Linked DNA regions of Homo sapiens: region 1 is linked to region 2. The links are contacts of gene promoters, found by promoter capture Hi-C in blood cells and fetal thymus (Javierre and others, 2016). All regions are on one chromosome and are shown on one strand. Each heading gives the region's core, a stretch centred on a gene start or on the middle of the fragment in contact. The rest is flanking DNA. Distances are from core to core; before and after follow the strand shown. Region 1 overlaps GYS1 (glycogen synthase 1). Region 2 holds the start of NUCB1-AS1 (NUCB1 antisense RNA 1).

Region 1 (5,428 bases), core at 807-3,306, 55 kb after region 2:
AGGCAGGTCTTGAACTCCTGACCTCAGGTGATCCATCCGTCTTGGCTTCCCAAAGTGGTCAAATTATAGGTGTGAGCCACTGCGCCTGGCCCAATGCTTTTTTTTTTTTTTTCTCGAGACAAGGTCTCACTTTATCACCCAACCTGGAGGACAGTGGCTTGATCATAGCTCACTGCAGCCTTGACCTCCTAGGCTCAAGCAATCCTCCCACCTCAGCCACCCAAGAGGCTGGGACTACGAGCACACAACACTACGCATGGCTAATTAAAAATAAAAAAAAAAAAGGCCGGGCACGGTGGCTCATGTCTGTAATCCCAGCACTTTGGGAGGCCAAGGCGGGTGGATCACGAGGTCAAGAAGAGAAAAAAAAAAAAACCATCCTGGCCAACATGGTGAAACCCTGTGTCTAATAAAAATACAAAAATTAGCTGGGTGTGGTGGCAGGCGCCTATAGTCCCAGCTACTCTGGAGGCTGAGGCAGGAGAATCACTTGAACCCGGGAGGCGGTTGCAGTGAGCCAAGACTGTGCCACTGCACTCCAGCCTGGCAATAGAGCAAGACTCTGTCTCAAAAAAAAAAAAAAATCTTTTATAGAGACAGGGTCTCACCATGTTGTCCAGGCTGGTCTTGAACTCCTGAGCTCAAGCTATCCTCCCACCTCAGCCTTCCAAGATGCTAGGATTATAGGTGTGAGCCACTGCCCCTGACCTATAATTATTATTATTATTATTTTAGACAGGGTCTGACTCTGTCGCCCAGGCTGGAGTGCAGTGGCGCGATCTCAGCTCACTGCAATCTCTGCCTCTGGGGTTCAAACGATTCTCCCACCTCAACTTCCCGAAGGGCTGGGATTACAGGTGCCTGCCACCACCCCCAGCTAATTTTTGTATTTGTAGTAGAGATAGGGTTTCACCATGTTGGCCAGGCTGGTCTCAAACTCATGTCCTCAAGTGATCCTCCCACCTCGGCCTCCCAAAGTGTGGGGATTATAGGCGTGAGCCACCATGCCTGGCCTGATCTATAATTCTTATGTAAGTTTTCCTAAAAACATCTGTAAACTGCAAAAATAGGCACTAAATATAATACATCTGTCAGGCATGGTGGGATGCACCTATAATGACAGATACTCAAGAGGCTGAGGCAGAAGCACCTGAACCTAGGAGTTCCAGGTGAGCCTTGGCAACAGAGTAATAACCCCATCTCAAAAAAGAAACAAATAGTAAAATGTATTAAATATATATTTATGATATAGTTTGACTCTGTGTTCCCCCCCAAATTTCATCTCAAAATGTAGTCCCCACGTGTCGAGGGAGGGAAATGATTGGATTACGGGGGTGGTTCCCCCGCCGCTGTTCTCATGATAGTGAGTGAATTCTCACGAGATCTCATGGTTTTATAAATGTTCGTTTTTCCTGCACCCTCACATACTTCTCCCTCCTGCCGCCATGAGAAGAAGCTTCTTTCTTCCCCTTCTGCCATGACTGAGTTTTCTGAGGCCTCTCCAGACATGTGGAACGGTGAGTCAATTACACCTCTTTCCGTTATAAATTACCCAGTCTTGGATTTTTTTTTTATAGCGGTGTGAAAACAGACTAGTACTATCTATCAATCTATCTATAAAACAAGGCCTATGGAAAAAGGGAATTGGGGCTGACCGCGACTCCTAATTATCATGCAAGCACAGTTTGCAGGACTTGTTAAATTACTAATAAATTAGGAAATGGCACTAATTTAGCTTTAATTTTTTTTTTTTTTTTTTTTTGAGACGGAGTCTCGCTCTGTCACCCAGAGCACAGCACTGCCGGAGTGCAGTGGCATGATCTCAGCTCACTGCAACCTCCGCCTCCCAAGTTCAAGCAATTCTCTGCCTCAGCCTCCCAAGTAGCTGAGACTACAGGTGCGTACCACCACACCTGGCTAATTTTTGTATTTTTAGTAGAGACAGGGTTTCACTATATTGGCCAGGCTGGTCTCAAACTCCTGACCTCATGATCTGCCCATCTTGGCCTCCCCAAGTGCTGGGATTACAGGCATGAGCCACCACGCCCAGCCTTATTTAGCTTTAAAAACACTGGCTAATGTGAACCAACAAGAGGAAGGTGGAGTTGATGGGCACTGGGAACGTCTTACGAGGAGACTTGGCCACACTCGGCTGTATTTGTGAATTGTGCATTTCATTGCCACTATTTGGGGGGCCACTGCTTTCTGGGAGAAAGCAGTGTGAACTGTGACATCCAGTTCACTAGTCCTCAAAACCCAGTCTTCTAGTTTCTCAATACATGAGCTATTGTATCACAAAAGCACGCGCTGTAGCAGAACAGGTGATTACCATTGTTCCTGTTTTGCAAAGAAGGCAACAGGCTCAGAGAAGGCCAGTGCCTCGCCCCAAGACATGCTAGCTCTGACTAGGATGCCATGACCACGCTGTCCCCTGCCCACTACACTCACCCGGTGTGTAGCCCCAAGGCTCATAGTAGGAGGGGAAGACTCCAAGGTGACAGCCACGGACAAACTCCTCATAGTCCACAGGGAGCAGGGGGCTTGTGGAGGAGAGGAACTCCGGGTGGAAAATCACCTGGTAGTGAAAAAGAAGGACTCAGCCCAAGTGCCTTATTTAGCTAAGCCCTGAGATCCCAAGGTGGCCCAGAGAGGGTAAAAAGCTTGTCTAGCATCACACAGCATGTGTTTGGCAGGACCAATGTTCAAACCCAGGTCTGCCTGCCTCAGAAGCCAGGGTTCTTTCTAACCACAGCAATACCTTTGATAAAACTTATAGGGGAATGGAGTGTGTGAGGCCCAGGACCCAACCCCTTCCCTCTGCCGTGCCCAACCCAGCCCTGACCAAATGCCCTCACCTTCACCCTGTCGGCACTGCTATTGAAGAGGCCGATTCGGCGGATGGTGGTCAGGATGGGGTCTGAGGAGTCATCCAGCATATTGTGGGTGCACACAGGGGGGAAAGACTGCCGCTGCAGGAGCCACAAGAAGGGTAAGGGGTCATGGAAGGGACAGAGAACTCCCTACTTCCTCATGAGCCATGCGGACCCTGGGGGAGCCAAGGAGACCACAAATGCACCGGACGTGGGGCAACAAACCCAAGTGATCACCAGGAGTTGTGGATTCCCACTAGTACAACCTGTAAAGGTTTTCTTTCTTTTCTTTTAAATTATTATTATTTATTTTTGAGGCGGAGTCTCGCTCTGTCGCCCAGGCTGGAATGCAGTGGCACAATCTCGGCTCACTGCAAGCTCCACCTCCCAGGATCATGCCATTCTCCTGCCTCAGCCTCCCGAGTAGCTGGAACTACAGGCGCCTACCACCACGCCCGGTTAATTTTTTGTATTTTTAGTAGAGACGAGGTTTCACTGTGTTAAATCAGGATGGTCTAGATCTCCTGACCTCGTGATCCACCTGCCTTGGCCTCCCAAAGTGCTGGGATTACAGGCGTGAGCCATTGCGCTCAGCCTAATTTTTTTTTTTTTTTTTTTTAATAGAGATGGGGTTTCACTATGTTGGCCAAGTTGGTCTCGAACTCATGGGCTCAAGCGATGCATCCGTTTTGGCCTCCCGAAGTGCTGGGATTACAGACATGAGCCACCACACCTGGCCTGGAAATGTTTTCCTTCCCTTAACCACCATGAGCTTCAAAGAACTAGAATTCCCAGCTGTCTTTGAGGCAAAGCCGTGTTAGCAACTCCCTTACCTCCAAGGACTATGAGGAGTTGCAGCTACCTTGTTCTGTACTCTGGGCTCTATTATTAAAGAAACCCAAAGGAAATATAACTATCCCCAGTCAATGGGGGTGGAGACTGTGCCAATATGGCAGCAAGCTTTGGAGACTGCTGGGAGTTGTAGTTTCCTTATGAAAATTCACTTCCAACCACCAGGCGTGGTGGCTCACGCCTGTAATCCCAGCACTCTGGGAGGCCGAGGCAGGAGGATGACGAGGTCAGGAGATCGAGACCATCCTGGCTAACACGGTGAAACCCCGTCTCTACTAAAAATACAAAAAATTAGCCAGGCGTGGTGGTGGGTGCCTCAGGAGGCTGGGGCAGGAGAACGGCATGAATCCGGGAGGCGGAGGTTGAAGTGAGCCAAGATCGCGCCACTGCACTCCAGCCTGGGCGACAGAGCGAGACTCCGTCTCAAAAAAAAAAAAAAAAAAAAAAAAGAAGAAAAAAGAAAATTCACCTCCAACCCTAACAAAGGCCCAAAGAAACCACAATTTCCAAGAGTCTCTGGAGCAAGACAGAGCTAGTGTGATAGGAAGTCCTGAGGACTGCTGGGGTGTATAGTTCTTAGCAACTGTTCCATCATAGCTCATTAAAGATTTTACTTACCACCACTCTACTGAGTCTAGGGGCCCGAGAAACTACAACTCCCAGCATCCCGATGGCAGAAACATTCATAATGAGGTGGGCTGCTTTAGGGACTATTGGAAATTATAGGTTAGCCAAAAGCAGTTCACGTTTTGTTTCTACAACTTAGCTGTCTGGGTTTCCATTCCCCAGGAAATGGCTCCCCAATGTAGACCACAAGTACTGAAGTCCCTGGACCCCAGAGAATGAAAGAACTCTAACTCCCAGAAGCCTCTGGACAAGGGAAGCGTCAATGCCCCAGAAAGCCAGCAGGGGCTGCTGGGAGTTGTAGTTTTTTGGGCCCCTAGACTCAATAGAATGACGGTAAGTTCTCATTTTATAAATGCCAATTCTCTCTGAAGTTAGGGATCTAAAGCAGCTACAATTCCCAGGGGTGTCTGGGGACCAACACACAGCCTCTGGAAATAAGAAACCGCAGCTGCTGAGAGTTTGCAATGTTTTCTGGAGAATGCTGGGTGCTTTTGCTCACCTCCTGACTGCGTCCCTAAAGTGGCCCGATAAAACTACCACTCCCAGCAGTTTTAGGGGTAGAGGTGGAGCCGTGTGCAGCAAGGCCCAAGGAGAGCTGAGAGTTGTAATTCTTTTATGGCTGTCTTGACCTTTTCTTTTCTTTCTTTTCCTTCTTTCGTGTGTGTGTGTATGTGTCCGCCTCGCTCTGTTGCCCAGTCTGGAGTGCAGTGGCATAATCATAGCTCACTGCAGCGGCATAATCATAGCTCACTGCAGCCTTGACCTCCTGAGCTCAAGGCATCCTCTGGCCTCAGCCTCCCAGGTAGCTGGGATAACAGGTGTATGCCACTATGCCCAGCTCATTTTTGTATTTTTGGTAGAGACAGGGTTTCATCATGTTGCCCAGGCTGGTCTCAAACTCCTGGGCTCAAGCGATCCTCCCACCTCAGCCTCCCAAAGTGCTGGGAATACTGACAGGTGTGAGCTACCAAGCTGGGCCTTGACTTTCTTTTGGGGGTGGGTGGGGGGCTAGTGTGGGATCTGGCTCTGTCCCCCAGGCTGGTGTACAGTGGCACAGTCATGGCTCACTGCAGCCTCAG
Region 2 (5,346 bases), core at 1,415-3,914:
GAGGAACTGAAGTTTTCATTCTACTGGATATTAATTTCTATTTCAATTGCCCCATGTGGCTAGTGGCTGCTGTACTGGAGTCCCAGCACAGCTCTAGAGAGGACATTTGGGCTGGATGCGGTGGCTCACGCCTGTAATCCCAGCACTTTGGGAGGCCGAGGTGGGTGGATCCCTTGAGTCCAGGAGTTCAAGGCCAGCCTGGGCAACATGGCACAAACCCATCTCTACAAATAAAATACAAAAATTAGCTGGGTGTGGTGGCGTGCATCTGTAGTCCCAGCTCCTTGGGAGGCAGAGGTGGGAGGATCACTTGAGTCCAGGAATTCAAGGCTGCAGTGAGCTATGATCATACCAGTGCCCTCCAGCCTGGGCAACAGAGTGAAACCCTGTCTCTAAAAAATAGAAAATAGGCTGGGCTCAGTGGCTCACGCCTGTAGTCCCAGCACTTTCGGAGGCCAAGGCAGGCAGATCAGGAGCTCAAGAGATCGAGACCATCCTGGCCAACATAGTGAAACCCCGTCTCTACTAAAAATACAAAAATTATCTGGGCATGGTGGCACGCACCTGCAGTCCCAGCTACTCAGGAGGCTGAGGCAGGAGAATCACTTAAACCCTGGAGGTGGAGGTTGCAGTGAGCTGAGATCATGCCACTGCACTCCAGCCTGGCAACAGAGCGAGACTCTGTCTCAAAAATAAATAAACAAATAAATAGGCCCGGCGCAGTGGCTTACCCCTATAATCCCAGCACTTTGCGAAGCCAAGGCGGCTGGATCCCTTGAGACCAGGAGTTCAAGACCAGCCTGGGCAACATGGCAAAACCCCATCTCTATGAAAACAAATACAAAAATTAGCTGGGTGTGGTGGCGTGCATCTGTAGTCCCAGCTACTTGGGAGGCTGAGGTGGGAGGATCACTTGAGCCGAGGAGTTCAAGGCTTCAGTGAGCTACGATCACACCATTGCACTCCAGCCTGGGTGACAGAGTGAGACCCTGTCTCTAAAAAATAAAAAAATAAAAACCTTATTTAATCTTTTTAATCAGGCAGTCCCTACAGACCAGAATAGGTTCAGAGCAACTCCCTATACCTTTTTTTATTTTTCATTTTTTTTATTTTTAGAGATGGGGCTTCCCTTTGTCACCCAGGCTGGAGTGCAGTGGCGTGATCATGGCTCACTGCAACCCAGACCTCCTGGGCTCAAGTGATTCTTCCACCTCAACCCTTAGAGTAGCTGGGATCATAGGTGCACACCACCATGCCCAGCCAATTTTTAAATTTTTTTTTTCTTTTTGAGGCAGAGTCTTGCTCTGTTGCCCAGGCTGGAGTGCAATGGCATGATCTTGGCACACTGCAACCCCCGCCTCCCAGGTTCAAGCTATTCTCCTGCCTCAGCCTCCTGAGTAGCTGGGGTTACAGGCACTTGGCATTATGCCTGGCTAATTTTTGTATTTTTGTAGAGACGGGGTTTTACTATGCTGGCCAGGCTGGTCTTGAACTCCTGACTTCAGGTGATCCTCCTGCCTCGGCCTCCCAAAGTGCTGGGATTACAGGCGTGAGCCACCGCACCCGGCCCAATTTTTTACTTTTTTTTTTTTTTTTGTAGAGACGGGGTCTAGCCATCTTTTCTAAGCTGGTCTCGAACTTAATGTGCTCAAATGATCTTGCCTTAGCCTTCCAAAGTACTGGGATTACAGGCATGAGCCCCTAAATTTGGCCCCTACATTTTCTTTAATCTTAATCAATTTACATTTAAACAGCCCATGTGGCTAGCGGCTACTGTACTGGACAGCGCAGATCCAGAGTTTAGGCAGAGAAGAGACCCCCAGGCCTGAGCCCTGGGCCACACTAGCATGTGGAGGTCAGGAAGAGGATGGAGCCGTCAAAGGAGGTGGAGGGGCAGCCAGAGAGGACAGAATCATGTTCTGGAAGCCAAGGGCAGAAAGTCAAGTCAGATGCAGGTGGAAATTAACCACTGGATTTGCAAGATGAGGGTTCCTGGCCTCCTCCTCAGGAGGAAGGTTGTGCTTGTCTGAGGGAGCCGAGGAAGGAGGGCCGGTGGTGAGGACAGGAAGTGTGGCTGACCGAGCCTGAAGCCCTGCAGCTGTGGGGTCTACGTTGGTAGGAGAGGCTCCCCTCACAACTGGAGTCGGCACTGGCCTGGTTGTCTGGGAGGCAGAGGTCCCTGATAACCCTGGAGCTGACTCTGTGTCCAGAGCACTGAATGCCAGGGCCAGAGAATCCTGCATGACAGTGACCCAAGCATGTTTCCTCGAACCCTCCCTTTGATCTATTCCATTCTCAACCCCCTGGTCGCTAGGCAGTGGCCCTAGCAACGGGTCTAGTGGGGTACTAAAGCCTGGGGGCCACCGTTCCACCGCGGGAGACCCGTAGTTACCTGTCCTCTGATAACAGACCCCACATCAGCCCAAAATTTCTTCACCAGGGACCTTACACATCCCGTCCTCGGTCCCCTGAGATACCTTGCTATCCTCTTCCCTTCAGATATCAACAGTGATGGTGTCCTGGATGAGCAGGAGCTGGAGGCACTCTTCACCAAGGAGGTGAGCATCTTGGAAGCCTCGGGCACCTGGAGGGACGCCCAAATCAGCCACTTGTTTCCTCCTGCAGTCCCCTTAAATCCCCCTGGATGGGAGCTCAGTGAAAACTACAACTCCCATCAGCCCCTGGGGCAAAAACGGCTCCCAGGAGTGGTAGCGTGCCCAAAGGACTGCTGGGAGTTGAAGTTGTCGGGAATGAGCTCGCTGGGGACCTCTCAATGCTGTCTGCCTCTCGCTTGCTCCTGCAGCTGGAGAAAGTGTACGACCCAAAGAATGAGGAGGACGACATGCGGGAGATGGAGGAGGAGCGACTGCGCATGCGGGAGCATGTGATGAAGAATGTGAGGTGGGGGCCAGGCGGGGGAGAGGACGGGCCCCCAGCTCTGTCACTCACCCTTATCTGGCTCCCCAGGTGGACACCAACCAGGACCGCCTCGTGACCCTGGAGGAGTTCCTCGCATCCACTCAGAGGAAGGAGTTTGGGGACACCGGGGAGGGCTGGGAGGTGAGAACATGGGGGATACTCGGGGTCCTGAACCTCTCTCTCTTCTAGCCATGACCTTTCTTTCAGAATCTTAGGCCCCTTCTCTTTCTCTCTGGGTCCCCGTCCATTCTCCTGGGTCACTGCATCTCTATCTCTGGGTCTCTGTTTTCCCCTGTCTCTAGGACTCTTATTTATTTATTTATTTATTTATTTATTTATTTATTTATTCTGAGACGGAGTCTCACTCCATCGCCCAGGCTGCAGTGCAGTGGCACGATCTCGGCTCACTGCAGCCTCCACCTCCCAGGTTCAAGCAATTCTCCTGGCTCATCCTCTTGAGTAGCTGGGATTATAGGTGCGTGCCACCACACCCAGCTGATTTTTGTATTTTTAGTAGAGGCAGGATTTCACCATGTTGGCCAGGCTGGTCTCAAACTCCTGACCTCAGGTTATCCACCCACCTTGGCCTCCCAAAGTGCTGGGATTAGAGGTGTGATTTTTTTTTTTTTTTTTTTTTTTCTGAAACAGGGTCTTGCTCTGTCGCGTAGGCTGGAGCCCAGTGGTGGGATCTCGGCTCACTGCAACCTCCGCCTCTTGGATTCAAGCGATCCTCCCATCTCAGCCTCATGAGTAGCTGGGATTACAGGCGTGAGCCACCATGCCTGGCTAATTTTTGTATTTTTTGTAGAGATGGGGTTTTGCCATATCGGCCAGGCTGCTCTAGAACTGCTGGACTCAAGCGATCCACCTGACCTGGCCTCCCTAAGTGGTGGGATTACAGGCATGCACCACCGCACCACACCTAGCTAATTTTTGTATTTTTTGGTAGAGACAGGGTTTTGCATGTTGGCCAGGCTGCTCTGAAACTCCTGGACTCAAGCTATCCACCCTTCTCAGCCTCCCAAAGTGCTGGGATTACCCAGGCTGGAGTGCAGGGGTGTTATCATGGCCCACTGCAGCCTCAAACTCCTGTCCTCAAGTGATCCTCCTGCCTGAGCCTCCCTATTAGCTGGGACTACAGGCACATGCCAGCATGCCTAGCTAATCTAGCTCATTCTTTTATTTATTTATTAATATTTTTTGAGACAGGGTCTCCTGTCACCCAGGCTGGAGTGCAGTGGTGTAATCATAGTTCACTGCAGCCTTGAATTCCTGGGCTCAGGTGATCCTCCTTCCTTAGCCTCCTGAGTAACTGGGACTACAGGCACATACCACCATGCCCAGCTAATCTAGGTCTCTGTTTTATTTATTTATTTATTTGTTTGTTTATTTTTCAATACAGAGTTTTGCTCTTGTTGCCCAGGCTGTAGTGCAATGGTGCATTCTCAGCTCATTGCAACCTCCACCTCCCAGGTTCAAGCAATTCTCCTGCCTCAGCCTCCTGAGTAGCTGGGATTATATGCATGTACCACCATGCCCTGCTCATTTTGTATTTTTAGTAGAGACGGGGTTTCTCCATGTTGGTCAGGCTCATCTCAAACTACTGACCTCAGGTGAGCCACCCACCTCGGCCTCCGAAAGTGCTGGGATTACAGGTGTGAGCCATGGTGCCTGGCCTATTTCTATATATTTTTCAAGATGCCCAGCCAATTTTCTGTAGAGACAGGGTCTCGCTCCGTTGCCCAGGCTGACCTTGAACTCCTGGCGTCAAGTGATCCTTCCCACTTTCGCCTCCCAAAGTCCTGGGATTACAGGTGGGAGCCATGGTGCCCGGCCTTGTCTCTCGGTCTTTATCCCACTCCCACCTCCCACTTGGGCTTCTTTGCCCACCCACATGGCCCTGGCCTCCCAGCCTCCTCTACACCTCCCCCATTGGCACAACCCTCTCCAACATGGGTGGGCCGAGGTTGGACCTGTGCCCCTGATGGCCCCTGTGCCTGCCCTGCAGACAGTGGAGATGCACCCTGCCTACACCGAGGAAGAGCTGAGGCGCTTTGAAGAGGAGCTGGCTGCCCGGGAGGCAGAGCTGAATGCCAAGGCCCAGCGCCTCAGCCAGGAGACAGAGGCTCTAGGGCGGTCCCAGGGCCGCCTGGAGGCCCAGAAGAGAGAGCTGCAGCAGGTGACAGCGGGGGAAGCTGCTTCCATCCACTGAATCTCTGGCTGCCCGTGTCCGTGTCCCCATGGGTGTCCAGAAGCTGGGAAGGCCTGTGGCCACCATGTTAATCACTGGGGGAGCCTCAAGTATTCACCGCCATCTTGAGTAAGGGCAGACGTTTTCCCGTCTCTGACGGCTCTGTGGCTGCCATGTGAGATAAGGGCATTAAGGCTGTAAGTGAGGAGGGAAAGGCCCAGGAGGGGGAGAAAGGC

Evidence for each region. Contacts are between HindIII fragments. The CHiCAGO score rates a contact against its expected background, and 5 or more counts as called.
Region 1: a fragment that was not itself captured here is called in contact with the fragment with the promoter of NUCB1-AS1 in region 2 in 4 of 17 cell types (erythroblasts, megakaryocytes, M1 macrophages and 1 more); the score reaches 5.7 in erythroblasts.

The regions. Positions count from the first base shown.
Region 1 is chr19:48,971,765-48,977,192 of GRCh38, forward strand. It overlaps GYS1 (glycogen synthase 1), which reads right to left. Exons shown (of 16, transcript NM_002103.5): 11 at 2,856-2,969; 12 at 2,449-2,575. Among named protein-coding and RNA genes, the nearest start is that of FTL, 9.2 kb to the left of the region's middle. RefSeq lists an enhancer at 4,508-4,802. The HindIII fragment of the contact is 1,204 bases long and covers 1,455-2,658 here.
Region 2 is chr19:48,916,227-48,921,572 of GRCh38, forward strand. NUCB1-AS1 (NUCB1 antisense RNA 1) reads right to left here and starts at 2,665. Exons shown (of 2, transcript NR_046633.1): 1 at 2,478-2,665. NUCB1 (nucleobindin 1) reads left to right here. Exons shown (of 13, transcript NM_006184.6): 8 at 2,500-2,558; 9 at 2,804-2,896; 10 at 2,968-3,060; 11 at 4,928-5,098. RefSeq lists an enhancer at 2,864-3,363. The HindIII fragment of the contact is 8,372 bases long and covers 1-5,346 here.